7 separate regions of the Homo sapiens genome follow, and regions 1, 3, 4, 5, 6 and 7 are each linked to region 2. Evidence: promoter capture Hi-C in 16 types of primary human blood cells and fetal thymus (Javierre and others, 2016). All regions are on one chromosome and are shown on one strand. The core of a region is centred on a gene start or on the middle of the fragment in contact, and the rest is flanking DNA. Distances in the headings are between cores, read along the strand shown.

Evidence for each region. Contacts are between HindIII fragments. The CHiCAGO score rates a contact against its expected background, and 5 or more counts as called.
Region 1: a fragment that was not itself captured here is called in contact with the fragment with the promoter of HSDL2 in region 2 in 15 of 17 cell types (megakaryocytes, total B cells, fetal thymus and 12 more); the score reaches 12.8 in megakaryocytes.
Region 3: a fragment that was not itself captured here is called in contact with the fragment with the promoter of HSDL2 in region 2 in 3 of 17 cell types (activated CD4 T cells, non-activated CD4 T cells and fetal thymus); the score reaches 6.0 in activated CD4 T cells.
Region 4: the fragment with the promoter of DNAJC25 here is called in contact with the fragment with the promoter of HSDL2 in region 2 in 1 of 17 cell types (fetal thymus); the score reaches 8.9 in fetal thymus.
Region 5: a contact is called between the fragment with the promoter of ZNF483 here and the fragment with the promoter of HSDL2 in region 2, in 4 of 17 cell types (naive CD4 T cells, total CD8 T cells, total CD4 T cells and 1 more). The highest score is 6.8, in naive CD4 T cells.
Region 6: a fragment that was not itself captured here is called in contact with the fragment with the promoter of HSDL2 in region 2 in 7 of 17 cell types (endothelial precursors, total B cells, M1 macrophages and 4 more); the score reaches 7.6 in endothelial precursors.
Region 7: the fragment with the promoter of ECPAS here is called in contact with the fragment with the promoter of HSDL2 in region 2 in 3 of 17 cell types (total CD8 T cells, non-activated CD4 T cells and activated CD4 T cells); the score reaches 6.4 in total CD8 T cells.

The regions. Positions count from the first base shown.
Region 1 is chr9:111,755,891-111,758,950 of GRCh38, forward strand. SHOC1 (shortage in chiasmata 1) reads right to left here. Exons shown (of 28, transcript NM_001378211.1): 6 at 2,805-2,958; 7 at 2,194-2,305; 8 at 435-588. Among named protein-coding and RNA genes, the nearest start is that of SHOC1, 38 kb to the right of the region's middle. The HindIII fragment of the contact is 1,826 bases long and covers 446-2,271 here.
Region 2 is chr9:112,378,703-112,381,402 of GRCh38, forward strand. HSDL2 (hydroxysteroid dehydrogenase like 2) reads left to right here and starts at 1,406. Exons shown (of 11, transcript NM_032303.5): 1 at 1,406-1,478. The coding sequence starts at 1,462. It also overlaps a transcript of PTBP3 not described here. RefSeq lists enhancers at 590-639, 740-989, 989-1,588, 1,020-1,139 and a silencer at 1,360-1,609. The HindIII fragment of the contact is 10,070 bases long and covers 1-2,700 here.
Region 3 is chr9:111,664,887-111,667,639 of GRCh38, forward strand. DNAJC25-GNG10 (DNAJC25-GNG10 readthrough) reads left to right here. Exons shown (of 3, transcript NM_004125.4): 2 at 1,929-2,060. The coding sequence ends at 2,054. GNG10 (G protein subunit gamma 10) reads left to right here. Exons shown (of 3, transcript NM_001017998.4): 2 at 1,929-2,060. The coding sequence ends at 2,054. Among named protein-coding and RNA genes, the nearest start is that of GNG10, 4.7 kb to the left of the region's middle. The HindIII fragment of the contact is 4,198 bases long and covers 1-2,753 here.
Region 4 is chr9:111,630,060-111,632,843 of GRCh38, forward strand. DNAJC25 (DnaJ heat shock protein family (Hsp40) member C25) reads left to right here and starts at 1,275. Exons shown (of 4, transcript NM_001015882.3): 1 at 1,275-1,684. The coding sequence starts at 1,349. It overlaps DNAJC25-GNG10 (DNAJC25-GNG10 readthrough), which reads left to right and starts at 1,275. Exons shown (of 3, transcript NM_004125.4): 1 at 1,275-1,684. The coding sequence starts at 1,349. It overlaps LOC107987116 (a long non-coding RNA gene), which reads right to left and starts at 1,144. Exons shown (of 2, transcript XR_001746897.2): 1 at 981-1,144. RefSeq lists enhancers at 1,139-1,228, 1,959-2,008 and a silencer at 1,319-1,608. The HindIII fragment of the contact is 9,325 bases long and covers 1-2,784 here.
Region 5 is chr9:111,523,707-111,526,547 of GRCh38, forward strand. ZNF483 (zinc finger protein 483) reads left to right here and starts at 1,473. Exons shown (of 6, transcript NM_133464.5): 1 at 1,473-1,556. RefSeq lists a silencer at 1,376-1,725 and enhancers at 1,826-2,025, 2,137-2,636. The HindIII fragment of the contact is 1,786 bases long and covers 1-1,501 here.
Region 6 is chr9:111,738,300-111,741,430 of GRCh38, forward strand. SHOC1 (shortage in chiasmata 1) reads right to left here. Exons shown (of 28, transcript NM_001378211.1): 12 at 1-223. Among named protein-coding and RNA genes, the nearest start is that of SHOC1, 55 kb to the right of the region's middle. The HindIII fragment of the contact is 1,456 bases long and covers 562-2,017 here.
Region 7 is chr9:111,482,994-111,485,791 of GRCh38, forward strand. ECPAS (Ecm29 proteasome adaptor and scaffold) reads right to left here and starts at 1,390. Exons shown (of 50, transcript NM_001364929.1): 1 at 1,123-1,390. RefSeq lists silencers at 20-439, 710-829, 950-1,489. The HindIII fragment of the contact is 4,796 bases long and covers 1-2,798 here.

The DNA of each region.
Region 1 (3,060 bases), core at 109-2,608, 620 kb before region 2:
GGCGGGCAGATCACCTGAGGTCAGGAGTTCAAGACCAGCCTGATCAACATGGAGAAACCCCATCTCTACTAAAAATACAAAATTAGCCAGGTGTGGTGGTGCATGCCTGTAATCCCAGCTACTCGGGAGGCTGAGGTGGGAGAATCGCTTGAACCTGGGAGGCGGAGGTTGTGGTGAGCTGAGATCTTGCCATTGCACTCCAGCCTGGGCAACAAGAGCGAAATTTTGTCTCGACAACAACAACAACAACAACAACAAGAAAATGACAATGAGAAAATAATCTCATCAAAAATAATCCTGAGATTTCAACATGTAACTTGCAGAACATTTTTGCAAAATCTGGAGGTTCAGAAAAATTTTAATAAACAAGAACCTATGTAACAAACATTCTTAAGTGGTTTTTACAAGTAATACATTTTACAATTAATTCTCACCTCTTTCAAAAAGCTTTTCCTTTTCATCTACATAGTTTATTATTTCTGGCACTGGGTTTAATAACTCCTTCAGTTCTGAGAGTGATGGAATATCAATTTCTGGTTTGAGGCTTGGAGGTATTAAGAATTCATACTCAATAAGAAAACTTGACGGCTGAAAAAACATAGTTTAAAAAAGTTTTTAGAGAGGCTTTCCAAATAAATATTTTCGAAATCATAAGTGGACAAAATTTGCTTAAATGATGTGCCAAATTTTAAACTAAATCCACATTCAAAATTGTTAAAGCTATATATACTTTAAAAAAACAGAAATGTAGCAGCTAAAAATACGTTCTATTATAAGCAATGTTCTCTCTGAGTATTGTATTTTATGGTCACTCATTACATTAGTGGTGTACAATATCCCTAGATGCAGAAATAGCTTCTTTTTGGCTAATAGCAAATTGTAAACATTTTAAATTAAAAACAGTCACTGCAGTAGATGAGAGATAATAAATGGTGAGAAGTGAAATGAGATCATGGAATGGAATAGATCTTTACTGTGATCCATGGAGTATGTTTCTCTTTCATTCCAACAGAACTTGACTCCTCAACAAGAGAGACTAAGTCCACAACTCTCAGGGTTAACCTGGGAAGCAAGAGGTACTGGAGGAATGGGGCCTATTGGTGAATTAACCTTTTTACCATCATGTTAAAATTTTTATTGTAAGGAAACCCCTTAAGTGCTTTAAGTCCATTAAAATCTCCAAATATAAAACATTTTAAGTTGTCCTAAAAAAATGTTTTTTGTGTTTTGTTTTTGAGATGGAGTCTCGCTCTGTCACCCAGGCTGGAGTGCAGTGGTGCGATCTCACTGCAAGCTCCGCCTCCTGGGTTCACGCCATTCTCCTGCCTCAGCCTCCCGAGTAGCTGGGACTACAGGCGCCCACCACTATGCCTGGCTAATTTTTTGTATTTTTAGTAGAGACAGAGTTTCACCATGTTAGCCAGGATGGTCTCGATCTCCTGACCTCGTGATCTGCCCACCTCGGCCTCCCAAAGTGCTGGGATCACAGGCGTGAGCCACCGCGCCCGGCCAAAAAATGTTTTTTTAAAGTAGCTTTGTGAACGCATCTAATCAATATGGGCCTAGATTTCTGAGCTTGTCCAGCTGCAAAAAGTTATTGCAATCGCAATAGCTAGAATTCTTTACATACTGATATTATGACCATTTTGTGTGCTATTGAAACTAAATGCATCTTTGAGAAGTTTGGCCTTTAATATGCAAAAGATGCTATCATCCTTGTTAAACACTGGCAGAAAACTAAAATTCAGTCTTGGACCCTCTATATTCTTACTCTTGCAATATTCTCATTAGCTCAAGTACTATTTTTTGTGTATAACTCACAAATCAATATTTCTAGTTCAGGTGTCAATTTTTAAACTAGACATGACTACTTAATTTCCTATACCAGGTATATTGATTACAATTATTGGAAGAGATTTTAAAGTTCCCTATGACTGGCCTGCACACCAGACCAATTTATCAGAATATATCTCAGGCTTCAACATTTTTTTTTAACTATTCAGGTAATTCCAACATACAGCCAAGGCTGAGAACCACTATTTAGAAGTAAATTTGACTTCTTAATTGATACATGTTCATTCCATTATAAAATCTTTTTAATTTGACAATTGTAGACAATGTATATTACACAAATTTTACAAAAATGTGCCTCACTACTTTTACTAAAATATTATTGAAAGCCAGTATTACAACCTCATTTAAACATATTGTATCTTCTAGTTTCTCTTGACAAAAGTTCACTTTATCCATACAAAAATCTTCTTTCACAAAAGCTTCCAAAGTTTCTTGAAGAGAGAAACATTCCCTTAAAAAAAAATACATTAATTAGTGTTTACTAAAAGCAAGTTACATACTAAATGTAGCCAACCAAAACACATAATCATTAAAATTAAAGTTGAGGTAAAACGATGATAAAAGTTATTGGCCGGGTGCAGTGGCTCACGCCTGTAATCCCAGCACTTTGGGAGGCCGAGGCGGGTGGATCACCTGAGGTCAGGAGTTCAAGACCAGCCTGGCCAACATGGTGAAACCATGTCTCTACTAAAAATACAAAAATTAGCTGGGCACAGTGGCGCACGCCTGTAGTCTCAGCAAGGCTGAGGCAGGAGAATCGCATGTGCCCAGGAGGCGGAGGTTGCAGTGAGCCGAGATTGCGCCATTGTACTCCAGCCTGGGCGACAGAGCAAGACTCATCTCAAAACAAAACAAAAAAAAACATTGTTGATAACATCTAAGCTTGTGATCATACTAAAACATTTTCACCTCTTAAAAATATTTACAGCATTGGTCAATTAAGTAAGTACCTGGAAAAATTAGCTTCTGTGAAGATCTGTCCTTTGAAATCTAAAAGAGGATCCTTTACCAAAAACAGTTTTAGTCTACTCAAGAGAGTAGGCAAAGTTGGTAGGTGTTTTCTACTACTTACAAAAAGTATTCCTTTATCATCAATAAATAAATCTGAAAAGAAATAAGAAATATAAAGGAATAAGAAAAAAACAAAAAGTTATCCAAAGAGATCTAGATAGTTAATGTAATCAGTCATTAGATACAGCTGGGTTT
Region 2 (2,700 bases), core at 156-2,655:
CCATAGGCAGAGACCTTGTCCTTTTTGAGCTGCTGTATCTCAGGTAATCAGCAATCACTTAGTGGATGATAATAATTTGCAAATTCCTCTGGAGCCTCTAAAGACCGTATCATGAATCATCAATTCAAATGCCTACAGGAGTCGGGCAGGTGATATGCAGGAGGAAATAGAGTCATTTAGGGCCCATAACAAAGGGGAGAGAGGCCGGGCGCGGAGGCTCACGCCTGTAATCCCAGCACTTTGGAAGGCCGAGGCGGGCCAATCATTTGAGGTCAGGAGCTCGAGACCAGCCAGCCCAACATGGCGAAACCCCGTCTCTACTAAAAACACAAAAAAATTAGCCAGGCGTGGTGATGCATGCCTGTAGTCCCAGCTACTCCGGAGGCTGAGGGAGGAGAATCACTTGAACCCGGGAGGCGGAGGTTACAATGAGCCGAGATCCGCGCCACTGCACTTCAGCGTGGGCGACAGCGAGACTCCGTCTCAAAAAACAAAACAAAAACAAAGGAGAGAGTACATAAGCCATCTCCAGGCTAGTTTCTTTAACTAGTCTTCATATAATAATCTCCTCAAGGTCCTGTTCTATCCCTACAAAATACAAAACAGTTCCTCGTGTCTTCCTTCAAATATACTACAGTCTTTAGCTCATCAGAGTAGCTGAGTTAGTCCAAGGCATAATCCCAAAAGCGAAACTGAATGTCAGAATTGATCTCATTTCAACACTCATTCCAGAAGTAGAAACTTCTGCAAGTTCAGCTTTTGACTATGAATTCTTCAGCGCGACTTTTGCAGAGAGCTCTGTTCCAAGAAGCTGGCGCCTTAACACAAGCTATCTACCGATGCACAAGGGAAGGCTGGCTTGGGTCCAGATTCGGCGGGAGAGTGGAAACGCGACGCTGGCCGACTTCAGCCACAAAGGCAATTTCTGCCCAGGGCTAGCGTTCCTAAGAGGGGGCCGAGAGAACGCCAGGCTCGGGCGTAGGGGCAAGAAGACCCAGAGCTAACGCACCTCTCGGAGGGCCCAAGCTCAGGGCTCAGTCACCCTCCCAGCTCGGAGCCGGCGCTGGAACACAGCGGCGCGAGGAGAAACCCCTAGAGACAGGGAAAAGGTGGACGTAGCGGCTGACGCTGCCCAGACGCTAGGCGCCGACAGGAGCCTGATTGTCACCGTACGACCAGTGAGGGGGCGGGGCGGAGCTGTGCCTCAAAGCGCCTGCGCGGAGAGCCTGCAATCAGGGACCAGGCTTGGGAGGCGACGAAGAGGAACGCTGGGCGCAGGAGGCCCACTGCATACGCAGGCGCACTCGGCGATCCCGGCTTTTCCGCGCGCAGTTCCCGCACAGGCATCGGGGGGGGCAGGGGCGGGGCAGGGGCGGGGATAAATGCGGAGGGACGGTCCAGCTTTAGCTCTCTGCTCGCCGCCGCCGCTGTCGCCGCCACCTCCTCTGATCTACGAAAGTCATGTTACCCAACACCGGGTAAGGGGGTAGGGGCGGCGCGGGGAGAGACCCTGTCGGGCGAAGGGCGCGTCTCGGTGGGGCCGCCGCGGATCGCCCGGGCTGGCCGGCCCGGCTGTGGGAGGTCAAGGATACTGCCTGGGCACGCTCTGAGCTCTGGTCCGCGCTGGGCACTGTGCACCGAGAATCTGCGGTAACGTGTGAAAAGGAACACAAACTTTTGTATTACAGGATGGCAGCAGTGTAGAAACCTTTTCCACGGGTAAAGGGCCGAGGGGGAGTCACCACGCCGCCCCCAGTGCCGGCCCTCCCTGAGTTTAGCAGGAGTGCGTGCCTGGCCGAATGCGTGTGAGTTCTAGGTGAAAGGTCGCAGGAGCAGCTCCAGAGTTTAAAGAGTTTTCACTTGTTCCTGACGCTCAATTCTAGAGTAATAATGGAGTGTTTAAAAAATGATTTCCAAATTAGAAACTAAACCGATCTTAAAACATGGGTATCTTTGGGGGATTTTTTTTTCACCTTAAAAAATTGTGTTAAAATACGTACAAAATCTGCCATCTTAACCGTTTTTTAAGTGTACACTTCAGTAGTGTTAAGTAGATTCATATCGTTGTGCAGTCAATCTCCAGAACTTTTTTCATCTGCAAGCTGAAACTCTATCCATGAAACAACTCCTCTTCCCCACCTCCGCTCGTACATTGGCAACCACCATTCTACTTTCTGGTTTATGTAAGGTCTGGGTATCTTGAGTTGAGTGACGTGTTGTCAGATTTTGTAATTTGCCTGAAACATGCAGGCATATAGCCAAAGACTTAAAACAGTTCAAAGAGTATAGGGTAAAAAGTGAGTCTCCCCATCCCTAAAATCTAGTTCCCCAGTTACTTACGTTTCTATTTCGTGCATGTATGAACATAATTTGTATACATCCGGATACACACACACACACACACACACACACACATACCCTTTCTTAAAAATAGCAGCAGACTCTATTCTTGGTCTTGCTACTTTTAGTTGGTATGTCTTGGGACATTCTTTCTTTGTTTTTTTTAAAGACGGGGTCTCCCATGTTGCCCAGACTGGCCTGTAGCCTTGAACTCCCAGGCTGATGTTCCTCCCTTCTTAGCCTCTGGAGTATTTAGGATTACAGGCATGCACCGCTGTGCCCAGGGACATACATTTTTAGTACATGGCAGATCTTCCGCCTCCTTTTTTTTTCTTTTGAGATGGAGTCTCGCTCTGTCTT
Region 3 (2,753 bases), core at 182-2,681, 710 kb before region 2:
CTTTTGAATTAATAACTGGTATATATAACCATTAATTCCAATTATAATTCACATGAAAATGTCAGAGCTTCTATTGAGAGCAAAAGCAAACTTTAGCATTAGCCTGGTAATATTATATTATGGTTTTATATTCATATAATATGGAGTAAACTGTCATTACATTAATGCAACCAAAATTCCTGGAGCTGTCCAGAAACTTGGTAGCAATTGTAACATAAACAGTTAATTTTCCAGTTATTTGGAGGCTTGGAAAATTAACACAAACTAGTAGTAATACCTGAACAGCAATTGGAACCATTTTTGTACAATATGGGTGAATTGTATTCAAAATGCCTTTTAATGCAAAAAAAAAAAGTACAATGAGGAAAACCTCCAAGTAGAAATATGCATCAAATGGAAGATAAGAAAAGGGATAATGATATTGTATCAGTTAGTTTTTGCTGCCTGACAAACCACCCCAAAATTTAGTGGCTTAAAAGATTTATACTCACAGTTCTTAGATGGACAATTTGAGCTAGGTTCAGGTGTACAGTTCTGCTGATCTTCTGGGCTCTCCCATGCATCTGCAATCAGATAGAGTGTTAACTGGTGTTGGCTGGTGTCTGGGTGATTGAGAATGGCCTCACTCACAGGTCTGCAGGTTGATAGGCAGGTGCTGGTTGTAGCTTACCAGTTCTCCTCTACAAGACCTCCAGGAGGCTATCTTGGGCTCCTTCAGATGGTTGTCTTACAGTTCCACCTGCACCAAGAGAGATAGGTGCAGAGACTCTTGAGGACTAGCTTGGAACTTGCCCTTTATTTCTACCACATTCTACTGGTCAAAGTCAGCCCAGATTCTTTTCTTTTTTTGTTTTTTTGAGACGGAGTTTTGCTCTTGTCACCCAGCTTGGAGTGCAATGGTGCGATCTCGGCTCACTGAAACCTCCGCCTCCTGGGTTCAAGCGATTCTCCTGCCTCAACCTCCTGAGTAGCTGGGATTACAGGTGCACGCCACCACACCCGGTTAATTTTTTTTTTTTTTTTTTTTTTAGTAGAGACAGGGTTTCACCATGTTGGTCAGGCTGGTCTCGAACTCCTGACCTCGTGATCTGCCCCCGCTTGGGCTCCCAAAGTGCTGGGATTACAGGTGTGAGCCACTGCGCCCAGCCACAGTCAGCCCAGATTCAAGGGGTGCGTCAATAGACTCTACCTCTTCGTGGAAGGAGCTGCAAACTATTGTGATCACGTTTGCAGTCTACCACAAATGTATTGCTATATGTTAGCGCTATTCTAATAGCTTTATATGTGTGAACTCACTTAATTGTTACAGCAACCCAGAGAGGTGAGTTACTATTTCTAATTATTTCTCAGATGAGGAAGCAGCTACTGAGACGTTGAGTAACTTGCCCAAGGTTATATAGGTAGTGGCAGAGCTGAATTTGAGTCCACGCAGTCTGGTTCCAGAGGCTATACTCCCAAATAATAAGCTATACCGCCTCAAAAGCAAGGCGGAAGAACTTTATCACTTGTTTGGAGCAGACTGAATAAGGCTTCAGACTTGTAAACATTAAGACAATTTGCTCATTTGGCAAACTTGGATATATTGATGCATGTTTTATATAAGTAAAAATTTGTAAAGGGAATGCTAGAATGAGCTATTTCTTTACCCGTTCAGTCTCAAAACTAGATTTCTAAATGGATCAAAGATACAGCTTTTTCTTGTCTTCGTTGAATAAGCAACTAAACCAAAAAATATCTAAATTGACGTTCATGGAAATTGTAACCTTTTCTCTTTGTAGTTCAAGTATTAGAACTTTCAGCAGAAAGAGACTTTTGGAGGTCACAAAAAGTTGATATTTACCAAGTTGGATGATCGTTTTCAGAATATCCTTGACTGCCGGGTGGCTTGGCTGTGAGCAGGGTGCCATGTTGCTGTCCCTTTGTTTCAGGTCTCTCAGGCAGCTGCAGAGCTTCAACAGTACTGTATGCAGAATGCCTGCAAGGATGCCCTGCTGGTGGGTGTTCCAGCTGGAAGTAACCCCTTCCGGGAGCCTAGATCCTGTGCTTTACTCTGAAGACTCGTGAGTAATGATACACCATGATGTCTTGGGCCCATAGCATTATCACAGGGCTTCCCAAAGGACTTGAGCAACTGAGTTTTGAATGTCTCCTATTCTTGGGGAAATTAAAACAAGAGCCAGCAAAATGCACAACTTTCCCTGAAGTGTGATTCTAGTGTATATTTACCTTGCCTGTAGAATACATCTAATCAGGACAGTCTGAAGTCTCTCTGGCACTAAGTCATGAGATGCCAACATCCTTCTGTACTTGAGCTCTTTGAGTTGGCTGGTAGTAATTTCTTCCTTTCTTTCTTTCTTTTTTTTGAGACAGTCTCGCTCTGTCACCCAGGCTGGAGTACAGTGGCATGATCTTGGCTCACTGCAACCTCCATCTCCCAGGTTCAAGCAATTCTCTTGTCTCAGCCTCCCGAGTAGCTGGGACTACAGGTGCCTGCCACCACGCCCGGCTAATGTTTGTATTTTTAATAGAGATGGGGTTTCACCATATTGGTCAGGCTGGTCTCGAACTCCTGACCTCAGGTGATCCACCCGCCTCGGCCTCCTAAAGTGCTGGGATTACAGGTGTGAGCCACCACACCTGGCCAGTAATTTCTTGACCTTAAGCCCACCCTCTCTGTCCTTATAGCATCCAAGGGTTGGGATTTGCTACTTAGTGCTATCAACTGACTTGCTACTCTTGGGAATAAGGACTCC
Region 4 (2,784 bases), core at 25-2,524, 750 kb before region 2:
TATTTAGTGGGCTGAGGTGAAAAATAGACACATATATGTTATATATGTAATGACAGAGACATATATGTGTAATGAGATTATATATATTATATATGTAATGAGGGAGATATATGTAATGAGAGATATATATTTATTCAATGAGAAATACAAAATTATAATGTATATTCATTATGTATTATAAGTATATAATGCTATGTATCAGTATTTGATTTCACTTTATTAAAAGAGTTGATTATATCTGAACGTTTATTTATTTGTTACTGACTGTCATCCTCCATCAGAATATATGCTCTCTGAAGTTGAGCTTCTTGTTTACTTTGCTCACCACTGTATCCCCAGTGCCTAAGTAACAGTGCCCGGCTCAGAGTAGAGACTCAATAAACATTTACCAGATGAATGATAGAAACAGATTTTTTGAGGCAAAGTTTTTCATGTTGCCATATAGTCCCATGCAATATTTTGGACATACTTATACTAAAAAATTATTATCTGAAATTCAAATGTAGGCCGGGCACGGTGGCTCACGCCTGTAATCCTAGCATTTTGGAAGGATCGCTTGATCCTTCCAGCAGGTTGTCCCGGGAACGCGCAGCCCAAGGTGGACGCACAGACCCGCGTACAGAGATTTTTTATTGTCATGACTGGGGGTGGTGGCACTACTGGCATTTAGTGTGGAGAGGCCAGATATGCTGCTAAACATCTTACAATGCAAAGGGCAGCCCCTCAAAGGCAAAGAATTATCTGGTCTAAAATGTCAATAGCGTGGAGGCTGAGAAAAACTGAACTAGATGGCTATGAACTTTCAGGGTCCCTACCTAGTACACAGGCAGCGCCTAGAATTGCTAAGTTCATCTTCCGTTTGGAAAGGCAGCATGGGGTTAGTGAGAGGAAGGCGCCCGGGGCTGGTGGCTGGCTTTAAAGGCCTACGTGCAAATCTTCTTGACGCTGATAACGGGATGCGAGAGAGCCAGGTAGGTTACCTATTGCAGCAGGTCAAGTGATGATGTCGAAAAGGATGCGTGTGCCGGACACTGTGGAAGGTAAAGCGCTCCGCACAGCCCGCCTAAGTGCGCCCGGGACAGAGCCATCCCCCAGGTGCTACCAAACAAATCCTCCAGCTGCTGGTACGGGGAAGGTGTTCAGTGACACACCGGAAGCAGCCTAGTGGCTGAGGCGTCCTTCTCCCTACCAACGGGTTGCGAAGGAAGTAGTTGCTGTAGCCGCGCCCTGTGCGCCTGCGCGGAGGCGTCGGCTGCTGACGTGTAGCTGGGGCCAGACGGGACTAGCCGGGCGCGCGGCTGAGTGCTGCAGAATCGCTGGGGTGGCAGAGCCGCCAGCGAGGCTGGGGATGGGGGCGCCGCTGCTCTCTCCCGGCTGGGGAGCCGGGGCTGCCGGCCGGCGCTGGTGGATGCTGCTGGCGCCCCTGCTGCCGGCGCTGCTGCTGGTGCGGCCCGCGGGGGCCCTGGTGGAGGGGCTCTACTGCGGCACGCGGGACTGCTACGAGGTGCTGGGCGTGAGCCGCTCGGCGGGCAAGGCGGAGATCGCGCGGGCCTACCGCCAGCTGGCCCGGCGCTACCACCCTGACCGCTACCGGCCCCAGCCCGGAGACGAGGGCCCCGGGCGGACGCCGCAGAGCGCCGAGGAGGCTTTCCTGCTGGTGGCAACCGCCTACGAGACACTCAAGGTGAGGCCTGCGGGCGTGGAGGGGCTTCGAAGACTGGCCGCGGGAAGCCCACGGCGCCTTCCGACCCCGGTCCGCGGAGCGTGGGCCTCTGTGACCCCGAAACTGAGCACAGCCACCACCGCGACCTTTAAGATACTCACGTTTCCCACGTGGCCCTGTGAAAGAGCCGAGTCGGCCCCACGGGGCCTTGGGGGGCACAGCTAGCCTCCTTGCCCTCTTCCTTTTTGTGACATTGTTATGCAAAACTTTGGCCATCTTACGATTTCGTGAAAATATTTTAATAACGTGCATTTCACATTCGAAAAGCAGGGTGATCATTATTAGTAGGATCTGGGGTAGCCCACAACAGGGAAAGTCTCGAATATCAAGTGACAACTGTGATCGCATCAGTTTGATATGACAGAAAATTGGTTTCTGGAAATAGTGTTAATGGTGACGCTTAGTTTGGGTTTAAGGAACTAAGAAAACACTGAGAAGAACAATGAACACCAGTCAAAAGGCTGGATGTGAGTCTTTGCTGTGACACCCCTGTATGACCTTGGATAGTGACTTATTATGTTGAAATAGCTGTTTCTTCATATGCAAAATTAAGGCCATGATACCTCCTCTCAGAGTTATTATGGGGATTAAATGATAAGTGTGCGAACCGCCCCCCTTTCCATAGGATCCATAAATAGGTGCTTAATGACTTGGGTACAAAACTCTGAGAATTTCTAGTAGGAAATATTTTGTGAATATGTATTTGTATTTCATTTGACAGGTTTTATTGAGTCTTGTGGGGATGAGAGATTTAGCCCGATGCTGTTTTCTTCTACTACTGCAAAAAATCAAACCATCTAGGACATCACGAAGTATAAATCGTACTTGATGGTGGTATTACTGCTTGAAGGGCCCCATCATACTAATGCGTCAGCGATTGTAGTTGTAAAGTATTTCTTTTCTAGCCTTTTTTTTTTTTTCCCGAGGCAAAATTTTCTATGTTGCCAGGTAGCCTGCTTTTAATGATTGTACTTTGAGTGGATATAATTTTACCTTGGATTGTTCCTCCAGATTGTTTTTCCAGAGCTGAAAATAGTCAAGGAGCTAACAACTTTATTGAT
Region 5 (2,841 bases), core at 223-2,722, 850 kb before region 2:
CCCGGATTCAAGTGATTCTCCTGCCTCAGCCTCCCGAGTAGCTGGGATTATAGGCATGTGCCACCACACCTGGCTAATTTTTTGTATTTTTAGTAGAGACAGGGTTTCTCCGCGTGGGTCAGGCTGGTCTCAAACTCCCGACCTCAGGTGATCCACCCGCCTCAGCCTCCCAAAGTGCTGGGATTACAAGCATGAGCCACCGCGCCCGGCCATTCTCAGCCCTGTCTCTTCAGCTTGACTTGCTGCCTGTGATAAGCCCACTCCTTTTGAGAGGAGTGGTTCATTTAGTTGAGCTTGCTCTGCCCTTTTGAAGTCTCAGGGCCTTGAATCACCTTGCTCCTTCAGTCTAGAATGAATCTAGTCTTTCTCTCCTAACTCCACCCCTTCAGGGATCATCCAGTTATTAGAACCCTCCAAACAATTTTTCTGGAGTTCTTTGGCCCTTTTTGCAATGCCCCCAATAATCCATGCAAATACTCATTCATAAGCTCAACAAATATCTATTGAGTGCCTGCCATGGGCCAAGTCCTGTTCCAGGACCTAAACACACAACCTAGAACAAATGAAATAAAAATACTTACTCTTCTGAAATTAGTATTCTACTGGAGAAGGCGGACAAGTAGTAAAAAAAAAAATTAACAAACCTATAGGGCATGTTAGAAGAGGAAACAAGAGTAAGGTGGGATTCCTATTTAAGTGGAATGGTGGGAGAGCTTCATTGAGAAGACCTGAAGGGATGAGAGAGCGGGCCGTATGGCCACTTAGGGAAGGAGCAGGTCAGCCGGAAGTACCTGGCAGGTTACAAGAAGAGGAAGGGGTCTATCAAGATTGGAGCAGGAAAGTGGGGAAGAGGTGCGGGAGGTTACAGGGGCTAGATTCCATCAGGCCTTGTAGGCCACTATAAAGACTTGGGTTTTAACTCTGAGTGAAATGGGAAACCATTGCAGGGTTTTAAGCAAAGGAGGGTCATAATTTGACGTTTTTAAAACGTCCGTCTGGCTGTGGAGAATAGCCAAGAGAAGTAAGGTATAATCAAGAAGCTATTGCAATAATCCAGGTGAGCCATGAGGGTGGACTGGACCATGGGGGCAGGTGTGGAAGTCATAAGATTAATATGTGTTTAACTCAAGTTGTGGCATTAATTATGGCTTGCATTAAATGCATCGGTAATATGCTTCTGCGGTGGATTTTTCCACCTTAGATTTCAGGGAATGGAAGTGATGGGAGCGGGTAGGGAAGGTCTGAGGTTACTAAACAGATGGAGCCTCCTGGATCTGCAAACCTCATACGATTCTAGGCCTCTGAGCCTCTGGCGCAGCAATAATTCTGCAGCCGAGCCCACTAGCCGCTTCCCAGTGACCATGCGCAACAGGCAGGTGGGAGCCTATGGAAAGCGCGGACTTTCGGAAAGCTGCACGAGCGCGTTCGGGGAGTCCGGTTCAGCGCCTCTGCGCAGGCGCAGTGGTTCCCGCAGGCTTGCGCGCGCACTCGCTGCGGGACAAGCTTCTGGAAGCTCTTTGCGGTGGCGTTGGTGCTGTTTGCGGATGCTGATGCAGGTACTGGTCGTCCCGGGCCCCGAGTTTCGGGGCCGTGGCCGGGTCGCCGGCTCCGAGGGCGCACTTGGGGCGGGATGGGGGCCGGGAGCAGCCTACCAACGGGCTGTGCGCTGCGCTGCTGCTGCTTCTGTGGGAGGTGCGCACTCCGCTGCGGGATGGGGCTGTTGGCTTCCCTCCATCCCTCCCTGCGCCACTTGGGCACTGTTGACATTTTGGGCGGGATAATGCCTTGTTTTGTTTGTGGTGTGGCGGTGAGGGGGAGGCTCTCCCGTTGTGGCAGGATGTTTAACAGCGTCACTGGTTCTGCCCGTTAGATAACAGTACCACCTCTCGTCCTAGTCGAGCTAACCAAAAATGTGTCCAGACATTGCCAGAGGACCGCTGGGGGGTGAAATCTCTCCTTTTTTCTTCCCTCTGGTTGAGATCCTCTGGCTGCGTCACATTTTCACCGGGCCTCCTATGTAAACTCCCTGTAGACGGAGCCGAGTGTCTTAGTCATCGCGGAGCCCCAGGTGCTCAGCACGGCGCCAGGTACGTGGTGGGCGCCTAATATTTGGCAGAGGAATAAATGACGTCATGCTGCTGTGTGCCGGGCGCTGTACTCGGAAGTGGGTTGTTATTGGTATGGTAGTTGCAATGCGAGGCTGTCACATCCTTCACTTGTCGCATTGTAGTCCCGCTCCGGCTGTATTGTCATTTCCTGGACCCTCTGTGAGCGTGAGGACCCTTTCAGGCCTGTCCACGCCTGGCCCCGCAGCTCATGGCCCCTGGTCTCGTTCCAGCTCATTGTAGTTGCTCCGTCACTTATAGAATGAATGAATGAATGCAACACAGGGCAGTCTGTGTGCAAAGGAGTGCTTTGGGATCAAGCAGAGCATCACACCAGAAGTGACAGTTGAAAGGAGTCAGGCTTTAAAGACGAATAAAAGTTTGGTAGGAGAAAGAAAGCAACATTCCGAGGAGAGGGAATAGCCTTGGTGCAAAGGCTAGGAGAGTATGTAGAGAGAGAGGAGATACTAATTTATGGCTGTAGTGTCAATCGGGTAGCTAGAGCTCAAGAGGTGAGGTCATCAGACAGTGTCTCTAGATCACAATGCCATGGTCCCTGCATGTGAACTTTATCGAGAGACAGTTCGGTGGCTGGTGAGGGACTGTAAGCCGGGGAGTGATAAGATCATATTTTGCATGTTAGAAGGAATTTTTTGGCCACAGTGTGAGACTGGAGTGAAGAACCCTGTACTTAGGCAGTTTCAGAAGGATAGAATGGAGAGGTTCTTAGGAAATA
Region 6 (3,131 bases), core at 40-2,539, 640 kb before region 2:
GTAGGCAAAAATATCTCAATTTTAGTGTCATTAGAAGACAAATTATCATGACATAAATATGTATTCAGATGTTCCAATGTTTCCATCATTTTCAGATTTAGTCCTGCTTGTTTCCACCACTCTGCCTTTTCCAGATTAATCACAAGGCTTTCTTCTTTAACAGAAAATATCTTTTTCAAATCTGTAACTGAATATTGGCTGTGGGGCTCTTGAATTCTTGGCACTTAAAAAAAAATAAAAAACAAATAGTTAGAAACAGTCTACAAAGCAAAAGAAACAAAACACAATAAACAGAACCACACTGGAATTTCTTTATGAAATGCATTTTTATGCATTAGAAAATAAGTGAAACTTGAAGTTATAGCTGGTATTTTTGTCTCAAGATGCTAATATTTGTAAAAGTTTAAGCTATTGTAGCAGTAGAAGTCACATAAAGGATTTATTTCACTCTTTGAAAATATCAAAAAGTTAAAATTATTCTGATATTTAGTAGAAGGAAATCTTATTTTGTTTGACCATTTTCAATTATTAAATTAATGTTTAACATTTTGAAGTAATACAAGCTTTATTAAATTAGAAATTCTAACTCATTATAATAAGCCTAAACAAGAAGAAATATTTGTTCAGATTTTATGATGACTATATCATCTTAGATATTGTGGTACAGCGCTTACTGCCTCATTACTTTCTAGCCTAAACGGGAGAAATCATAACATATGGAGGAACTGAAGTAGCACAACTACCTAATATTATTATCTGCATTATAAACATCAACCTGAAATTAGGATTATAAATTTTGAAACTCTAATTTTGGAATGGTGCTTTTATAATGACAGTAATATTAAGAAGAAATTAAAACTTAAAAATACTAATATTAATAATAGTAATTACAAGTTACTAAAAAACATCTGGCACTATGCTAAGTGCTTTCTTTACATGCATTATTCTTAATTAATCCCTAAATAATTCTATAAAATAGGTATAATTTTTAATAGTTTTATTAAAGTATAACTGACATGCAATAAACTACACATATTTAGAGTGAAAAGTCTCATAAGTTTTGACATATTTATACATTCATGAATCCATTACCACAATCAAGGTAATGAACATATCCATTCCCTCCGAAGTTTTGTATCCCTCCTGCCTCTTTATACCTCCCTTCTAATCTTCCTCATCCCCCAACCCCTGTCCCACTGTTCTGCTTCCTGACACTATAAACTACATTTTCTAGAATTTTATATAAATGGAATTATACCATATGAATTTTTTGTGGTTTCTGTCATTCTGCATAATTATTTTGAGATCATCTGTGTTGTGTATATCAACAGTCCATTCCTTTTTTTCAGGTAGAAATAATTGTAGATTCACATGCAGTTGCAAGAAATAATACAAGACGTCTTGTTCCCCCCTTTTTTTGCTTTAAAAGTATATTATACTATGTAACTGATAATTTCAATATATGATCTGATTTTGATGTCTAATGTTTCTGCTGTATCTCACTGATCATGCCAATATATTTTGTGATTGTTGTCTATTAGCATGTGTTTCTTTCAACTTTGTGGAAGGTCTTTGAAGCACGAGTTGAAGTACATTCTTCCAGAAAAAAAATTTATTTTCCTCTAGAAAGGATTTACTTTTGTCTCTATGTGTTTGGGAGGCACTGTCAACCTGGGACCACTTTAAATTAAATCACCACTATTTTTAAAAGTATATAGGTGGTTTGAATTCAGACTGCAACCAGGCATGATGGCTGCCTTCTGGTTAGCAGTACTTAAGAGAAATTTTTTTTCTTTTCCTCTCTTCCAGCTCCAAGGTAGAAATATGCAAATTTATTCGGAGTTCCCTTCTATATATGGTGGTTTACTTTTGTATGCTCTTATTTTGATGGTAGTTTGTTGAATTCCCAGTTTTATGTAGGGGTCCCCTATCAGACCCTCCACGTAGGATATTTCTTGACTCTACACTACATGTCGACCTCAAAACAGAAGTTCAAAGTCTCCAAGGTTTAATAGAAAGCTTGGAGTGAAAGCCAGCTTTGGTGCTTACTTGCTTCCCAGGATTCCTGTTTTCACTTTGTTTTTGGCCTCCAAATGCAACTCAGTGATTCATTTAAAAATTTTTTAAAACAATACCTTATCCAAAGTTCCATTTCCGTGATGGAATAGTTCAGACACAGACAAGAGTTTAACTTACTCAGATAAATTTTGAATATACATGTGAAATGTATAACCTCAAAATTATTTTGTTAAACTATAAACAAGTTTTGCTAAAATGTTATTTATTTATTTTTGAGATGGAGTCTCACCATGTTGCTCAGGCTGGAGTGCAGTGGTGATCTCAGCTCTTGCAACTTCCACCTCCCTGGTTCGAGCGATTCTCCTGCCTCAGCCTCCAGAGTAGCTGGGACTACAGGCGTGCACCACCATGCTCAGCTAATTTTTGTATTTTTAGTAGAGAGGGGGTTTCAACATGTTGGCCAGACTGGTCTCGAACTCCTGGCCTCAAATGATCCGCCCGGGTCGGCCTCCCAAAGTGCTGGGATTACAAGTGTGAGCCACGGTGCCCGGCCATTTTTTTTGTTTTGTTTGTTTGTTCGTTTGTTTGAGACAGAGACTTGCTCCTTCACGTAGGCTGGAGCGCAATGGCGCCATCTCGGCTCACTGCAACCTCCGCCTCCCAGGTTTTCAAGTGATTCTTGGGCCTCAGCCTACCGACTAGCTGGGACTAAAGGTGCGCTCCGACACTCCCGGCTAATTTCCGGCCGTTGTTAAAATGTTTTTAAACGTCTTTTTTGGAAAGCTTGGGCAACTAAAACTTTTAACATTAGATGAGATTTTTTTTTATTTTTATTTTTTTTTACAAACAACTCACAACTTTGGAAATACAAATTACTTGTATGGGACAGTTTTATGTACTACTTGTATTTCATTTCTTTTCTTTTCCTTCTCCCATGTATAGGAATTACCCAGAAAATCAGCAAGATCCGGATCTTGTCATATACTTCTGCACCTAGCATAATGAACCTTATGGAAGATATCTTGGTATTTTAGCTTTAGGCGAAGTTATATATTCTGTTAAGAAATGGTCAAAGAAAAAGGATATCCCACATTTCTACTCGTTGTACCTTT
Region 7 (2,798 bases), core at 140-2,639, 900 kb before region 2:
TCCCTGCTCCATCTGAGGGTCACCGCCTATTCGTGACCTTTCGGCTGATTACTAGAGTGTCACAAAAAGGCACCTTCTCCCCCTTCCCGAAAGCTCCATTTCTATAACTCAACCAGCCGTCGGGGACCCGGGGCCAGGCGGGGTCAGACGGGACGGGCGGACACTGCCCGTCACCCCGGGGCTCCGGCCCTCCCGCCAGCCGAGGCTCAGTGGGCAGGGGGCTGGGCTCCCCCGACCCCGGGCCAGGGCGGATCGCGGGCAGAGGTGGCTCCGCCCGGGGCTCCGGTTTCAATTTCGCAACGTGACGGTGCAAACCTGAGGCCTACAAACGCCAGCGGCGACGGTCCGCGCCCCGCCCGTCCGCCAGGCCCGGGCTCCCCAGCTCCCCGTACGCCGCGGCCGCCGCCCGCCCACCGGGCCTGGCGCCCCAGCCCTCATGCGGCCGCCGGCCCCCGGCACCGCGCGGCGCCCGTTCCGGCTCGCGGCCGCAGGTTCGGCCGCGGCACTTACTCAGCTCATCCTGGGAGGCGGAGGCGGCGGCCGCAGCCATGTTGCGCCGGGGAGGGAACGAGGGAGGGGCTGGGGGGGCAGGGCGCGGCCGGGGGGCTCGCGGCTCGCGGTGCGGCAGGGGCCGCGAGCCGCCTCCGTTCACTCGGCGCGGACCGCGCTGTGCCCCGAGGCCCGCCCGCCGCCGCCGCCTGCGTCCTCCGCGTCGCGAGCGTCGCCCTTCGCTGCCCCCGCGAGCTCGCGACTCGGGCGCTCCCGCAGCCTCGCGCCTCTGCGGAGCCGCTGCCGCTGCCGCCGCCGCCGTCTGTGCGGCCGAATCCCCGTGCGCCAGGCCCGCGCGGCGGCTCTGCGACTCCGCGCCGCGCTCGCCCAACTCACGCCGGTTTTATATTTAGAAAGAGCTGAGCCATCCTCCCAGCGGCCCCCCCGCCGGGCCCCTCGCGCGCCCGCCCGCCCTCGCTCGCTCGCGGCTCGTCCTGCCCACCTGTCGCCGCCCGCCCCGCGTGCGCTCCCCGCGCGGACTCGACACGCGGCGGCCTGTGCGGGCGGCCCGGCCTAACCGCGCCGCCGCGCGCGCAGGGCCAGTCCCCCGCGGCCCGGGGGCGGGCCTCTGACCTGAGTCGGAGCCGGTCTCCATGCCGCGGACGCTGCGCTCGGCGCCGCGAGGTGAGGGCTGTAGAGCGAGGCGTTCGGCGGGCCGGGCCCCGGGGAGCCGCGCGCCGCAGTCCGTGAGGGGCTGGGCCGAGCGGGCCCGGGCTGCCCTAGCGGCCGGGGGAAATCCTCGAGGCGGGGCCGGAGCGCCCTTTTCCGAGGTCTGCGGCTGTCACGTTGGCTGGGCCCGACCTGGGGAAACACGCCTGTCCAAAGGAAGAGACGTGGACTCAGAAAAGTAGAGCCGGGCTCGGAGTCGGCGGGAGGAAGCCCCGCCCTGCGCCTCCCGCCGAACTTCTCGGCCCCGGCGCTGACTCAGTCCCGGACGAGCCCCTGCGCCGCAGCGGCCCCCGACAGCCCAGTTCTGGTGTGGAGGTGGCTGGTGCTCCCAAAACGGCTAGCGGGAGCAGGGGGTCCACTCAGCCCTGCAAAAGTTAGATAAGGCAAGATTCCTAAAGTTCACATGGAAGTATCTATGCCTATGTGAGCTCTGAGATTTTGTTCAGATACCCTATGTTCTTTTCGGTAACTAGAGTGATTTATTTTCGATATGCTGATTTTAACTTTCTGCCTTCGCTTTGTCCGTGAGGTCATGTACACTTGCAAAATGAAATTCAAATTCAGGGGTTGCATAATTGCTGTACTTTAAGTGATGGTACTGTCATAACAAATTAGATACAAGATCAGATACTTTTTTTATATAAGAAGAAATCAAGTCTTAAATAGATTGAAATTGCATTTATTCCTTAAAGCAGAAATCTATAAAGCCCTAAGTAATGTCTTAAAAATGGAATATATGTCATTCCTGTTGTAACATAGGCCAAGTACAAGGTACAACACTGAAGACATTTTTATTTCCTTTATTGTTTTTGTTATAGAAATTATACATGATCTTGGGCCGGGCGCGGTGGCTCACGCCTGTAATCCCAGCTCTTTCGGAGGCTTAGGCGGGTGGATCACGAGGTCAGGAGTTCGAGACCAGCCTGGCCAACATGGTGAAACCCTGTCTCTAATTAAAAAATACAAAAATTAGCTGGGCGTGGAGGCGCGCGCCTGTAATCCCAACTACTCGGGAGGCTGAGGTAGGAGAATCGCTTGAACCCGGGAGGCGGAGCTTGCAGTGAGCCGAGATCGCACCACTGCACTCCAGCCTGGGGGACAGAGCGAGACTCCGTCTCAAAAAGAAAAAAAAAAGAAAAATTATACATAATTTTTGTAAAAAAAAAATGCAAATGATTTGGAGTATCATAAAATTAAAAGTGAAAGTCCTTCCTCCTAGCCCCACCATCCCACTCTGCAGAGAAATTATGACTAACAGTTACAGTTAAGTGTGCAGAAGACCTTTTCTCTGGACATATATATACAGCCCCATGTATGGCTTTGATGGGGACAGGTTTCTACAATAAAGTTCTGGATCAATTATTCCTTCACACACATTGTTCCATGTTAATTCAAAACACTGCACTACCATCACCCTTTTTTGTTTGTAACTTCATACTACACTAAGTTAACCAACCCCTTTTTTCATGTATGCTCCTCTTTTATTTGATGTTGCCTCCAAAATAAATACACAATGAACTACTTACAAACAATAGAGAGGTGTATACAGGTCTTCTCCCAACTGCATACCCACCATCCCC